Linked DNA regions of Homo sapiens: region 2 is linked to region 1. Evidence: promoter capture Hi-C in 16 types of primary human blood cells and fetal thymus (Javierre and others, 2016). All regions are on one chromosome and are shown on one strand. The core of a region is centred on a gene start or on the middle of the fragment in contact, and the rest is flanking DNA. Distances in the headings are between cores, read along the strand shown. Region 1 holds the start of MMP19 (matrix metallopeptidase 19). Region 2 has its middle 42 kb from the start of MMP19.

What was found. The method cuts DNA at HindIII sites, captures the fragments that hold promoters and counts their contacts. A CHiCAGO score of 5 or more calls a contact.
Region 2: a fragment that was not itself captured here is called in contact with the fragment with the promoter of MMP19 in region 1 in 1 of 17 cell types (endothelial precursors); the score reaches 5.4 in endothelial precursors.

Annotation. Positions count from the first base shown.
Region 1 is chr12:55,841,325-55,845,585 of GRCh38, reverse strand. It overlaps MMP19 (matrix metallopeptidase 19), which reads left to right and starts at 2,650. Exons shown (of 9, transcript NM_002429.6): 1 at 2,650-2,842; 2 at 3,148-3,233. The coding sequence starts at 2,756. The HindIII fragment of the contact is 3,493 bases long and covers 1-3,095 here.
Region 2 is chr12:55,882,853-55,887,188 of GRCh38, reverse strand. No RefSeq gene overlaps it. Among named protein-coding and RNA genes, the nearest start is that of MMP19, 42 kb to the right of the region's middle. The HindIII fragment of the contact is 1,470 bases long and covers 1,720-3,189 here.

The DNA of each region.
Region 1 (4,261 bases), core at 1,401-3,900:
CCCTGTCACTCATCGCTCAGAGGCTTTCTGTCCTTCCTTGCCTGTCACTGGTCACTTGAGACTTAGTCACCCAATGGTTACCAGTTGGGTGGTGGATGGGCCAGACGGACCAGCATCATTGAGGGCAGCAATATGGATCAGGAGCATCCCCCACCTTGATCCTGGGCTGTGAGGTGTTCCCTTGTGGCCTCCCAGCCCTTCTGAGAACATAAAAGTTCAGTTACCTTTTCCCCCATTCCTATGTCTACTTCACTGTGCTTTTGAACAATATGAAAATGTTGTATGATGTGTAACTGATGGTGGAGCCTTCAGGGGTCCTAGTTACTTAAAGAACAAAGCTCTAAGTGTCAGTGTGGTGTACGGAAAGAGCATGAGTTATAGAGTCAGCAGAGGGATTTAAATAAGGTCAGGCCAGTTGGGAGTTCCATGTTCTTGGTCAAATTTCCCTTTCTGAGTATCTATTTCCTCCTACAAAAAGTGGCCGGAATAATTTTCCCCTCACCAGATGGCTGTGAGAACTATAGGAGGTAATATATAAAGCATGTAATACATAGTAGCTTTTTATTTATTTATTTATTTATTTTTTTTTTGTGGGGGGACAGAGTCTCGCTCTGTCGCCCAGGATGGAGTGCAGTGGTGCGATCTCAGCTCACTGCAACCTCTGTCTCCCGGATTCAAGCGATTCTCCTGCCTCAGCCTCCTGAGTAGCTGGGATTACAGGCGCGTGCCACCACGCCTGGCTAATTTTTGTATTTTTAGTAGAGACGGGGTTTCACCATGTTGGTCAGGCTGGTCTCAAACTCTTGACCTCAGGTGATCCACCCACCTCGGCCTCCGAAAGTGCTGGGATTACAAGTGTGAGTCACCATGCCCGGACTTTAATTCCTTTAATTTTTTATTTCCATAGGTTTTTGGGGAACAGGTGGTATTTGGTTACATAAATTCTTTAGTGTTTAGTGGTGATTTGTGAGATTTTGGTTCACCCATCACCCAATAATAGGTATTTTTATTTTAATTAATTAACTAATTAACTAATTTTGAGACAGAGTCTCATTCTGTCACCAGGCTGGAGTACAGTGGCGCGATCTCAGCTCACTGCAATCTCCGCCTCCCCAGTTCAAGCAATTCTCCTGCCTCAGTCTCCCGAGTAGCTGGGATTACAGGCGCATGCCATCACGCCTGGCTAATTTTTGTATTTTTAGTAGAGACAAGATTTTGCTATGTTGGCCAGGCTAGTCTCAAACTCCTGACCTCATGGTCCGCCCACCTCAGCCTCCGAAAGTGCTGGGATTACAGACGTGAGCCACTGCTCCCGTCCGGTATTTTTAAATGTAAGTTTTTCTTCTTTTCCTTGCATAGCATTTAAGGCCCTCTCCAAATTCTGTCTCCCAACCACTTTCCCACCCTGGTCATTCTTTGACAGTGATTTATTAAGCACAGCCTCGAAAGCATGGAGGTGGCCTGGGGTAGGCACTCGGGCTTCAGTGGTGAATGAAGCAGTCGTGACCCTTCTGACTTACTGAGTACAGCAGTCTCTCAGCTCTGCACTTTTACTCAAGACCTGCACTGTCTGTCTCTCAGTATCCTTTTACCCTATCAATTCTTTTTTTTTTTGAGATGGAGTTTTTGCTCTGTTGCCCAGGCTGGAGTGCAATGGTGTGATCTCAGCTCACTGCAACCTCTGCCTCCTGGGTTCACGTGATTCTCCTGCCTCAGCCTGCCGAGTAGCTGGGATTACAGGCGCCCGCCACCATACCTGGCTAATTTTTGTATTTTTAGTAGAAACAAGGTTTCACCATGTTGGTCAGGCTGGTTTCGAACTCTTGATCTCAAGTGATTCACCCACCTCAGCCTTTCAAAGTGCTAGGATTACAGGAGCGAGCCACCATGCCTGGCCTTACCCCATCAATTCTTAGCTGGCCTTCAAAGCCCATCTCAAAGCCTGACTTCTCAGCAAACCTCCCCCCAGCCCCAAGCCCCTTAGGGTGAATCACCTCTGGCCTGGCACGCTGGCTCCCCTCTTCCCAGGTGTCTGGATCTGCCTCACTGGATCCGTAAGCTCCCTGAGGGTAGGCTCTGGGCCCTTTACTTATTTGTGCCCTTGTTAAGTCCCACCTACACCCACATATTCCAGGCTCATTAGATTCTTGAAATAATGACTTTTTATTAAAGCAGACATAAGTAGGTTGCAGGAGCATCTATATTCCCAACTTGGTCTTGGGTACAAAGAAACTGAGACTTCACGCTTGACTCCTTCACCTGAAACCCAAGCTACCTCAGCTGTTTCCTACCTCTCAGCTTATTCTAGGGAGACTCAAAGGTAGGGGCGGAGTGATTTGCTGGCCCAGGGTCCCTGAGGCACATTGATGTCTAATTCCAGGGGATGTCCATGATCCCTATCTCTAGTCTCTCCAGAGATTCTGGTTCTCGTCCTGCCTGGATGCTCACCCTAGGGCAGTATGAAGTTTTTCCATCTCCAGCAGAGGACTCTGAGGGAAGCGATTGGGAACTCTCTTTGGCTTCCGCTCTCTGGTAGGGCAAGGGTTAATGGTGAATTGCAACATATCTCTTGGCTGAGTCACCTCCCTCTGCCTCTCCCCCAAATTCCCCTCAGCTGTTATAAAGAGGACTAGAGGCTGGAGAGTAAAAAGAACTGGGGGTAAGAGCCCCTCTGCCTAGCACTGCTCCCCCAAGGCTCCCAGAAATCTCAGGTCAGAGGCACGGACAGCCTCTGGAGCTCTCGTCTGGTGGGACCATGAACTGCCAGCAGCTGTGGCTGGGCTTCCTACTCCCCATGACAGTCTCAGGCCGGGTCCTGGGGCTTGCAGAGGTGGCGCCTGTGGTAAGTCCCCCAAGAAAGAGACCTGGGCCAGCGGAGGGACAGGGGTTACTGCTCCACAGCCCCATCGAAGCCTCCCTCCTGACCTTCAGCCTGCCTGCCTTTCCCTTGCTCTCTCTGCCCCATGGTCTACCCTGCCCATCTCCCGCTGCTTCCCCTTGTTCCACCTGAGCCCCTTCTCTAAGGTGCTTCTCCATTAGTGCTTCCATATCAGGTCCCTCCTCTCCTGATGGATCTGTTAGGTCACTTAGAAGCTTTACTCTGAGACTAACCCCCTTTTAACCTGCTTACCTCCACTCCCATCATAGGACTACCTGTCACAATATGGGTACCTACAGAAGCCTCTAGAAGGATCTAATAACTTCAAGCCAGAAGATATCACCGAGGCTCTGAGGTGAGAAGCTATGAGGTGTATGCCTTTAGGGCTAAGGTCTCAAGGTCTTCTTCCTTCTCATCCCTTCCTCTCCCCAGGCCCACCTCCTCCTGACCCTAAACCATGCCAGGGATTTAGAGATGGGTGGCGATCATTATTATGGTGGTGGGGCATGGGGTGAGATGGGGATTCACAGATGAGGAATACAGGCATTGGATCTTCCTAGGCCATAAGCATTCCTTTGGAGTCTCTACCCACATCATATCTCAAATACTAATATTTAGTTATAGTCCACATAAAGTGTAATGATATGTAAAACTGAGTTGAGTTGTTGACATGCTATTACCTTTTGTGGGCCTTCAATTTGGTACTTATTTATTTCTATTTTATAGTTTTATATGTTGATGTAATGGATTATTTTTCTTTCTGCTCTCAGATATGTTCAGGTCCCTTGAAAAGCCCCTAGGCCCTATGACAGTCCATAGATGGATGAAATTGCTCCAGGGCAAGCTGGGCTGGGACGGGTATCCATTCAGGAAGGGAGAAGGCTGAAGGAGGACAGGCTGTCAGGTGGGAGCACTAGTGGAAAGCTCTCCAGAGCAGGGGAGCCAGACACCTCCACAGAGTAGGAGAAGGTTAGAAATTGCAGTAGAGGGGCTGGGCATGGTGGCTCACGCCTGTAATCCCAGCACTTTGGGAGATCCAGGCAGGGGGATTGCTTGAGCCCAGAAGTTTGACAGCAACCTGGGCAACATAATGAGACCCCATCTCTACCAAAAAAGAAAGAAAGGAAGAAAGAAAGAGAGAAGAAAAAGAAAGGAAGGAAGGAAGGAAGGAAGGAAGGAAGGAAGGAAGGAAGGAAGATTGCAGTAGAGGAGGAAGGCTACACCTGAGGGCAAACTTACTCAAATAAAAGACACTGAAAATGGGGAGATGAAGCTGGAGTATCTCCATTTCTGCAGAACAGAAGAGAAAGTCCCAGTTATGAGGACTGGAGGCTGGAGTAACCCTGTCAGCTTCAGGGATTCTGTGCTATTCTTGGCCATGAA
Region 2 (4,336 bases), core at 1,205-3,704, 42 kb before region 1:
GACAAAAAGATGGTTAAAATGGTACATTTTATGTTATGTATATTTTATCACAATTAAAAAATAAGGAAAAAATTAAAAACGAGAGAGCTAAGATGGTACATTTTCTTTGACACAGTAATTATACTAAGAATTTTTCCTAAGGAAAAAATGAGATGTGTAAAGATTTAGTCATATGGATTTTTAAAGAGTAGTTTTACAAAACAAAATGGAACAAAACAAAACAAAAACAAAGAATTCAATTTTAATGTCCCCAAACAGACCACTGGTGAAATATAATATGATATACAATAAAATGCCATATAGCCACCAAAAAAAACCCCAAAACCCACTATTCTATCTGAAGATAGATTAGAAAAAAAAATAAAGAACTATGTTGTAAAAGGATAATTTTTTTTTTGAGATGGATCTTGCTCTTGTCGCCTAGGGTAGAGCGCAGTGGCGTGATCTCAGCTCACTGCAACCTCCTCCTCCTCCTGCCTCAGCCTCCCAAGTAGCTGGGATTACAGGCACGCACCACCAGGCCTGATTAATTTTGTTGTTGTTGTCGTTGTTGTTTTGAGATGGAGTTTCGCTCTTGTTGCCCAAACTGGAATGCAATGGCGTGAACTTAGCTCACTGCAACCTCTGCCTCCTGGGTTCAAGAGATTCTCCTGCCTCAGCCTCCCGAGTAGCTGGGATTACAGGCAGGCGCCACCATGCCCGGATAATTTTTTGCATTTTTAGTAGAAATGGGGTTTCACCATGTTAGCCAGGCTGGTTTTGAACTCCTTACCTCAGGCGATCCACCTGCCTTGGCCTCCCAAAGTGCTGGGATTACAGGTGTGAGCCACAGTGCCCAACCTGATATGAATTCCTTCTGCCTGGAGTTCCTCTCCTTGAGTGACAAGCTTGTTTTAAATGGGTTGTAAAAACAATGCCTTATCTAACAATAGTGTTTCAGATAATAAAGTGCAGGCTGTAACAATCCTCAAACACTAAAATACAAAGGCAAATTCAGCGAATTATTTCTATTTATTCCTACTAGGTTAGGAGCTCCTCATGGCTGTAGAAATGACTAGTCTTATCCATTTCTAAATCCATGATTCTTGGTACCTAGTGTATAATGAAACATAATATAGCTGTTTGTTTTTTGAACAAATCTAGTTCCCAGGGTTTGCTCTCAGAATACCGGGTTCAAATCTCAGTTCTTTTTTTTTTTTCTTTTTGAGACAGAGTCTCCCTCTGTCTCCTGGGCTGGAGTGCCGTGGCGTGATCTCAGCTCACTGCAACTTCCACCTACTGTGCTCAAGCAATCCTCTCACCTCAGCCACCCAAGTAGCTAGGACTACAGGCATGCACCACAATGCCTGGGCTGATTTTTAAATTTTATTTGTAGAGACAGGGTCTTGCTATATTGCCCAGGCTGGTTGTGAACTTCTGGCTTCAGGTGGTCCTCCTGCCTGGGCTTCCCAAAGTGTTGGAGTTACAGGCATGAGCCATCATGCCCAGCCTAAAGTTAGTTATTATTGATGAAGTTTTGAAATAGAGAACTGATGGTAAGATCATGGAAAATGAGGAGAAACCAGGTATGTACTTCTCAAGATACCTCAACAAAATAGTATTTCTTTTCCTGATGTGTTGACCATGGTCTGGATCTTGCCAATATCCCTACAGACATCTGGTTTTGTCAGCACAGACAGTAGATCCAATTCTTGAGGATAGACCCATATTAGTCAAGCTTACAAGGCTGATTTATAAACTAGAACATATAAATTAGAATGTCAGTTTATCATTTTATACAAACCAAACCTACCATGAGGAATAGAACACTTGAGTCAGCACAACCAGCACTCTCACTGCCCACAAACATTGCTCCTTGGTTCACCAAATTATATTCAGAAGGTTACTTGGTGAGTATGCATATTAGTTTCCTGTGACTGCTATAACAAATTACCACAACTTGGTGGCTTAAAATAGCAGAAATGTATTCTCTCAAAGTACTAGAGGCTAGAAGTCCAAAGTCAGTATCACTGGATCAAAGCAAAGGTGTCGGCCAGGCATGGTGGTGCATGCCTGTAGTCCCAGCAACTAGGGAGCTACTAGTACTAGGGAGGGTGAGTTAGGAGGATCGATTGAGCCCAGGGGGTGGAGGCTGCAGTGAGCTATGACTGTGCCACAGCACTCCAGCCTGGGTGGCAGAGCGAGACCCTGTCTCAGAAAAAGAAAAAAAAGCCAGGTGCGGTGGCTCACACCTGTAATCCCAGCACTTTGGGAGGCCGGTGGATCACCTGAGGTCAGGAGTTCGAGACCAGCCTGACCAACGTGGTGAAATCCCATCTCTACTAAAAATACAAAATTAGCTGGGTGTGTGGTGCATGCCTGTAATCCCAGTTACTTGGGAGGCTGAGGCAGGAGAATCATTTGAATCCAGGAGGTACAGGTTGCAGTGAGCCAAGTTTGCACCATTGCACTCCAGCCTGGGCAACAAGAGTGAAACTCTATCTCAGAAAAAAAAAAAAGGAAAGAAAAATCAAGGTGTTGACAAGGCTGCACTCTCCCTCCCCAGGGGCTATAGGGGAGAATCTAATCCTTGCCTTTTCCAGCTTCTGGTAGTTGCCAGCATTTCTTGGTTTGTGACAGCATCACTCCAATCCCTGCCTTTATCTTCCTTCACATTGTCTTCTCTCTTTGTGTGTGAAATCTCTCTCTCTCTCATGAGGATACAGGTGATTGTATTTGGGGCCCAGCCACATAATCTAGAGTAATATAATCTCAAGATCCTGAACTTAATCACATCTGCAAAGACACCCCCCGCCCCCCAACCTTTTTTTTTTTTTTTTTTTTTGCCATATAAGGCATTGTTTACAGGTTGTAGGGATTAGGAAGTTAAGATCTTTTTTCAGGGAACATTTTTCAACTTATCACAGCATGGAAATTGGGACTAGGGGAGTGACCTGGTTTAGATGTGTGTCCCCTCCAAATCTCATGTTGAAATGTGACCTTCAATGTTGGAGGCTGGAGGTGGGTGTTTGGGTCATGCGGGCAGATCCCTCATGAATGGCTTGGTGCCCTCCCCATGGTAATGAATGAGTTCTCACTCTATTAGCTCACACAAAAGCCGGTTATTTAAAAGAGCCTGGAATCTCTCTTGCTTCCTCTCTCGCCATGTGACACGACTGCTCCCGTCACCTTCTGCCATGAGTAAAAGCTTCGGAAGACCTCACTGGTGCCATATTTGTACTGCCTGCAGGGCCGTGAGTCAAATTAACCTCCTTTCTTTGTAAATTACCCAGTCTTAGGTATTCCGTTATAGCAATGCAAAATGGACTAATACAGGGAGTGAGTTATACCGCTAGAAAGATTGAAGACATCAGGCTGCCATTGTGTGATGCATTTACTTCCACAGTTGGGATGGCCTAGTCAAGTGTCCTGAATACTCAAGTCCATTGCCAAGATTTATTCTCCCAAATACCATCCTTGAACGGTCACTACCAGTGTTTGCTTCTTTTTTTTTTGAGACAGAGTCTCACTCTGTTGCCCAGGCTGGAGTGCAGTGGCATGATCTTGGTTCATTGCAACCTCTGCCTCCTGGGTTCAAGCTATTCTCATGTCTCAGCCTCTCAAGTAGCTGGGGTTACAGGCGCCCGCCACCATGCCCAGCTAATTTTTGTATTTTTAGTAGAGACAGGGTTTCGCCATGTTGGTCAGGTTGGCCTCGAACCCTTGACCTCAGGTGATCCACCTGCCTTGGTCTCCCAAAGTGTTGGGATTACAGGCGTGAGCCACCACACCTGGCCTGTTTTTTTTTTTTTGAGACGGAGTCTTGCTCTTGTCGCCCAGGCTGTAGTGCAGCGGCGCAATCTCGGCTCACTGCAACCTCCGCTTCCCAGGTTCAAGCGATTCTCCGGCCTCAGCCTCCTGAGTAGCTGGGATTACAGCTACCCGCCACCACTTCCGGCTAATTTTTGTACTTTTAGTAGAGATGGGGTTTCGCCATGTCGGCCAGGCTGGTCTCGAACTCCTCACCTCAGGTGATCTGCCTGCCTTGGCCTCCCAAAGTGCTGGGATTACAGGTGTGAGCCAACGTGCCTGGCCTGTCTGTGGCTCTGCTTTTTGATGCTTCCATGGCTTACAAAACTACTTTGGTTGGCTTAGTTTTTCTTTTTCATCTTGTTCTAGCCTGGGGACTGTTCTATTTCCTTAATTGATAGCTTTGCCTAGCTCTGTTATGACCCACTATATATTGATGTTTATAACTTACTTCTTAATAGGCAATTTCTTTACTAATAAAAACAACAAAGGTATAGTGGTTTCTTCTTCCAGAATAGTGAAATTTCTAACAGCCCTACCTTTCTGC